Regions from separate parts of the Homo sapiens genome. Here region 1 is linked to region 2. The links are contacts of gene promoters, found by promoter capture Hi-C in human tissues and cell types (Jung and others, 2019). All regions are on one chromosome and are shown on one strand. Each heading gives the region's core, a stretch centred on a gene start or on the middle of the fragment in contact. The rest is flanking DNA. Distances are from core to core; before and after follow the strand shown.

Evidence for each region. The method cuts DNA at HindIII sites, captures the fragments that hold promoters and counts their contacts. A contact is called where the count stands out against the background at its distance.
Region 1: a fragment that was not itself captured here is called in contact with the fragment with the promoter of PANK4 in region 2 in 1 of the 25 tissues and cell types used here (dorsolateral prefrontal cortex).

The regions. Positions count from the first base shown.
Region 1 is chr1:2,218,634-2,221,333 of GRCh38, forward strand. It overlaps LOC124903823 (a long non-coding RNA gene), which reads left to right. Exons shown (of 2, transcript XR_007065358.1): 2 at 1,902-2,116. Among named protein-coding and RNA genes, the nearest start is that of SKI, 8.3 kb to the right of the region's middle. The HindIII fragment of the contact is 5,387 bases long and covers 1-2,700 here.
Region 2 is chr1:2,524,998-2,527,880 of GRCh38, forward strand. It overlaps PANK4 (pantothenate kinase 4 (inactive)), which reads right to left and starts at 1,599. Exons shown (of 19, transcript NM_018216.4): 1 at 1,467-1,599. The coding sequence starts at 1,590. RefSeq lists an enhancer at 1,626-2,346. The HindIII fragment of the contact is 22,461 bases long and covers 1-2,883 here.

The DNA.
Region 1 (2,700 bases), core at 118-2,617, 310 kb before region 2:
CCCCCAAAGTTAGTACAGTTTAAATACTGAAACTGTAGAATCTGTAGAAACTATTGTCTCTGTGGAACTCACCAAGCCCTGGCCCTCCTTTGCTCCTCCATTACGGCCCTAGCGTCAGCTTCTTTCAAAGCTTTCACCCATTTTTTTTTGTCTTAGCTCTCTCCATACTTCTCAATTATGTGCTCTTGCTGCTCCTCCTTGGTTTAGCAGCTTTATACATGGTGAGATGTTACTGGAGAATGAGGGTTTTGCTCTTATCCAATGCTCCCTGCCCCACCCTACCATCTCTTCTTCTGTCTTCCCAAATGAGCAATTTCCTCATTTTTGTTTAAGTTGATGTCTCTATTATAATTTGTACTATAACTCTCTGCTGAGTCAAGTAGTGAACTCTGCTTAGGTTTTCTCTTTATTTTTCCTGGAGTTAGTAGTGGCCTTGCTTTCTTCTGTCATCTGCTGAGTTTCCTCTGTGCCTATGGCCCATCCCACCTACCTCTTCCAACAAGCCCTCCACACAGTGTTTGATCTAGTCAGTTGCATCCTACCTTCCACTGGTTCCTTGTTTTCCTGGAGCCCTGTGTCCTTCTGGCTTAGTCTGGGCTGCTTACTCTCTGGGCTCCATGTCTAGGCTGGTGGGCAGAGATTTCCATTTCCCCTTCATGGACTGGGACAGACCCTTCTTAGCTCTTATTGTTATGATGGAAGCCCAGTTCCAGATCCCATTCAGAAAGGGCCTGTGGCCATGACTCTTGTCTCTCACTGGCCTTAACCAGCAGCCCTCAGTGGACGTGAGACCAGGCCCAAGGCTTGCATTGGCAGTTTGGTTTCCACTCTTGCTTACCACTGTGGCTTGAGTGCTATCTTCATTTCTAGCTCTGCACAGCTACCTTCCTTGTGCCTTTTTACAGGACATTTAAAAAACAAATCTGGCCAGGCGAGGTGGCTCACACCTGTAATCCCAGCACTTTGGGAGGCTGAGGCGGGCAGATCATGAGGTCAGGAAATCAAGACCATCCTGGCTAACATGGTGAAACCCTGTCTCTACTAAAAAATACAAAAAAAATTAGCTGGGCATGGTGGCGGGTGCCTGTAGTCCCAGCTACTCAGGAGGCTGAGGCAGGAGAATGGTGTGAACCCAGGAGGCGGAGCTTGCAGTGAGCCGAGATTGTGCCACTGCACTCCAGCCTGGGAAACAGAGCGAGAGAGTGAGACTCTGTCTCAAAAACAAAACAAAACAAAACAAAAAAACCAAATCTGGCCAGGCGAGGTGGCTCACACCTGTAATCCCAGCACTTTGGGAGGCCGAGGCAGGTGGATCACCTGAGGTCAGGCGTTTGAGACCAACCTGGCCAACATGTCAAAACCCCATCTCTACTAAAAAAAATACAAAAATTAGCTGGGCATGATGACGGGTGCTTGTAATCCCAGCTACTCAGGAGGCTGAGGCAGGAGAATCGCTTGAACCCGAGAGGCAGAGTTTACACAGAGCCGAGATTGCGCCACTGCACTCCAGCCTGGGTGACACAACGAGACTCTGTCTCAAAAAAAAAAAAAAAAAAAAATGGCCGGGCACAGTGGCTCACGCCTTTAATCCCAGTGCTTTGGGAGGCCGAGCTGGGCGGATCACAAGGTCAGGAGATCAAGACCATCCTGGCTAACACAGTGAAACCCTGTCTCTACTAAAAATACAAAAAATTAGCCGGGCGTGGTGGCGGGCGCCTATAATCCCAGCTACTCGGGAAGCTAAGGCAGGAGAATCGCTTGAACCCAGGAGGTGGAGGTTGTAGTGAGCCGAGATCGCGCCACTGCACTCCAGCCTGTGTGACAGAGCGAGACTCGGTCTCAAAAAAAAAAAAAAAAAAAGCAAATCTATTTTACCCAGCATGTGTTTGTGCTTGGACTAGGAAGGGGACCCTGCACCATCTTGGCTGGGGTTGTAGCAGATGCTCTGGTGTCCTGTGGCTCCTCCGCCCCACCCTCACAGCGCCCCACTGCAGGGCTGCAGTCAGAAGCCTCAGGTTGCAGCCTGCCCGACAGCTCAAGCTCAGCAGGGCCGAATGGAGAATGTGTACCTCCTCCTCCTAACATTGTTAAAAATAAAATTTGTATTTTGACACAATCTCAAGCTTATAGAAAAGTTGCAAGAATAGTACAGGAACTTTTTTTCCCCTGAAGCATTTGAGGGTTTGTTGCCGCATGGTGCTCACCACACCCCAAAACAAGGACATTCTCCTACACGCCCCAACACGGCTGTCCAAGGCGGGAAATCACGTGGAGTCAGACCCCACTCTGGGCTTTCTGGTTGTCCCAGTAATATCCCTTGCAGTAAAGAGATCAGCCTGGGACCACACATTGCACTGAGGTGCCATCATGTCTTCTGTCTCCTTCGGTCCGGAACATTCCTGGGCCTTTCCCTGACTGTTCTTTGAAGCTTCCAGGCCAGGCCTTTTGGAGACGGTTCCCTGTGTGGCTTTGTCTGAGATGTCATCACAGAGAGACACAGGTTGTGCATCTTTGGCAGGAAAGGAGCAGATGTGACACTGTGGTCTGCTCACCCCACCCTGTCAGGTGGGGCAGGACTCTGATGGATCCAGTATCAATGGAGCCCACCGCGATCGCTCGGTTAAGGTGGGGTCTGTGTCTCCGCTGGAACTGACATTCTTTTTCCCTTTGTGACAAATTAGCATTTTGTGGGGAAGATTC
Region 2 (2,883 bases), core at 349-2,848:
GTTCTCATACCTGGCACCAGGCCACACCCCCTAAGAAGCATTGCCTCCCATAAGCTCACTGAAAGGTGGGAGCCAGGACCTATAGCTACTTCCATTCTCATCGCCCCCCACTTCCCTAGAGGACACCCTTCCCTGGCTGGACATCTCAGAGAGATGATGACACCAACAACCCCGAGGACACCACAGCAGCAAACATGTCAGATGCACCAGGAGCACACAGCTCAGAGGGAATGGCCTGGGTCTCTCTGAGTCCCAGCTTTTCCAGGGAGGTGGGAAGCAGTCAGCGGCAGGCCCATTCATCCCAGTATTTACTGGGCGGCAAAGACAGGTTGGGCATCCTTTTCGGGGGCTGGGGCTACAAGACACACCGCTGCTCTTGTGGGATTCACACACAAGCAGACTCAGCCTACGACCGAGATGAGTGCTAAGAGGGAGAGGTATGTGAAGCCGCAGCGGCTATTCAAGGGGGGTTTCTCCAGGTGAAGCTGCCCCCAGGAAGCCCTCATGCCTGAAACATGGGCAGAGTAGGAGAGCAGGGAGTGGCTGGTTCAAATCCTGGTTCTGCCACTTTCTAGCCCGATGACCCTGGGCAAATTAGTTCACCTTTCTGGGGCTTGGTATCCTCATCTGCGAAAAGGGAGTAATTCGCGTTCCTCCCCTAGAGGTGGCTGGGAGGTGTCCGGGAGTCAGGAGCGTGGGAAAAAGGTCTAGAACAGAGCCTGGCCCGCCGTCATTACTGAGAGCACAGCCATCAGGCAGGAGGGTCTGCAGCGGACCCTGGAGAGGCCAGGGCAGAAGTGCAGGCCGCCTTAAAGGCCACGGAAGGCACGGGTGGCTTTTAAACCAGAGGCACGAGTTCCCAGGTCCCACGTCCACGGCCGCCTGAACTCACGCCCGGCGTCCACTCTCCAGAGAGCGGGGCCTGTGCACGGACTGTCCGGCCCGCGGGCCACAGCTGGCCACGCCGCGGGAACGCGCGGCCTTTTCGGGGCCACTCTGCCAAGGGCTTCCCGCCGAGCTCGTCCTCGTCTCGACCAGAACTAAGGACCCCAAATCTCAGGCCAGCCACCAGCCAAGCGGCGGAGCCGGGGCGCCCAGATGCCGATGTGGCCGAAGACATAAAATTCCGCCGACCCTCCCACCTCGCGGCGGGTAACGCTGGACCCCGGCCCCCAGCCACCCAGGACGGCCGCGCGAACTACCAGGCCCGGCAGGCCCCGCTCTGGTCCCTGCGGCGCCTGCCGGTAGCTGTAGTCCGGCCGTCGCCCCGAGCCCGCGCATCAGCGACCCTGCGGACTACAAGGCCCGTGAGGCTGTGCGCGGGCCCGCGGACTACAAGGCCCGTGAGGCTGTGCGCGAGGCCCGCGCCCCCGCCCTTCGTCCTTCCCGCCGCCCCCGCTCGCCGGCCCACCGCCGGCGCCCCGCCCGCCCCCGCAGCCCGCGCCCGGCGCCCGGCCTGCGGCTACCTATGTCGATGGCGAAGCGCTTGGCGTTCTCCAGGTTGCGGAAGATCTCGTCGGGGGGCAGCGTGATGCTCTTGTCCAGACTGTCCCCGCTGCTCCCGCTGCCGCTCGCTCCACACTCCGCCATTTTGAAAGTGCCCGGCCAGCTCATCAGCCATGGAGATATATGCGCATATATTTGACTGCCAAACGCCCCCTCGCATAGATTATGTTAATGAGGCGCCGGCCCCGCCCCTTCCCTCCCCCACCCCCGGCCTCTGAGGTCTCGGCCGCTACAGGGCGAGCTAGGGCCAGTGCTGGGCAGGGGTCCGAGAGGCCCGGGGCTGCGGGCGGGCGGGCGGTTATCCTCCAGAGATCGCGCATCAGCACAGAACATCTGGACTGATGTTCTTTTACCGCGCTGTCCACAGGCTTAACTCAAGTGCTCTGAGCCCTGCTGAGGGAGGCCGCAGAGGCCGCCCACCTGCTTCTAAGGGGGCACGTGGGTCTGCAGACTGTCAGAGAGCCCTGCCCTTCAGCGAGTGCCTGCTGTAAGCTTGGCCCTGCACGCCAGGGCGAATGTGATGCGCTCTTTGCTAGGGTGACTCAATCCTGGCTTCCCAGGGGCGTGGGACTTTCAATGTTAAAAGTCCCATGCAAACCAGAGGAGTGGGGAACCCTGCCCCACCTGGGAGGAGCCCCAGCCTGGCATGCACCTGCGGGTAGGGAAGATGTGTGCTGTAATGGCGATCCGTGGAAAGTGCTGTGGTCGGGGGAAGCCAGGCAGGCTGCCTGTGGGCAAGACAGGTGCCTGGGAGGCTGCAGGAACAAGCCTTGGAAGCAGCTGGAGCCAGGACAGGGGTATAGGTGGGGCAGGCCAGGGTTCCAGGGTGAGTGGCTGGGAAGCCCTGCTGGCATGAAGAGATGCGTCTTCTCCAGAGGCTCTGGGCGCCTTGGGAAAAAGCCCAGTGTTGGAAGCAGACAGATCAGCCCCTCCCGGGTAACCCGGGGTCATTACTGCATGTCTCTGGCCCTCAGCCTCTGTCTGCACGTGGAGAATGCCACCAGCTGCCTGGCAGGGCTCCTGGGAGCACAGGCCTGTGGGGCGGCACAAACTCCAGGGATAATGCATCTGTGTGCGCAGGGCAAGCCTTCAGGGAGGAGGCATCCTTGCCTGTGTCTTCCAAGGGGGTGGGTGTGTGGCTCTGGAGGGGGAGCCTGCCCCAGGGAGGCCTGGGTGGAAGAGTGGAGCACACCCCAGGCGGCTTAGACCTCTGGCAGCTCAGACCCCTGGCAGCATGGTGTGCCATGGGCCAGGCTGGCAGGAGGTGCCCTCCATGAGGGGCGCCCACCTGTGTGCCCACTGAACATGCGGGAAACATGCAGGTGAATGGGGGCCTTCCCTGTCCTCTGCCCACCATACCCCGGGGCTCGGTAGGGA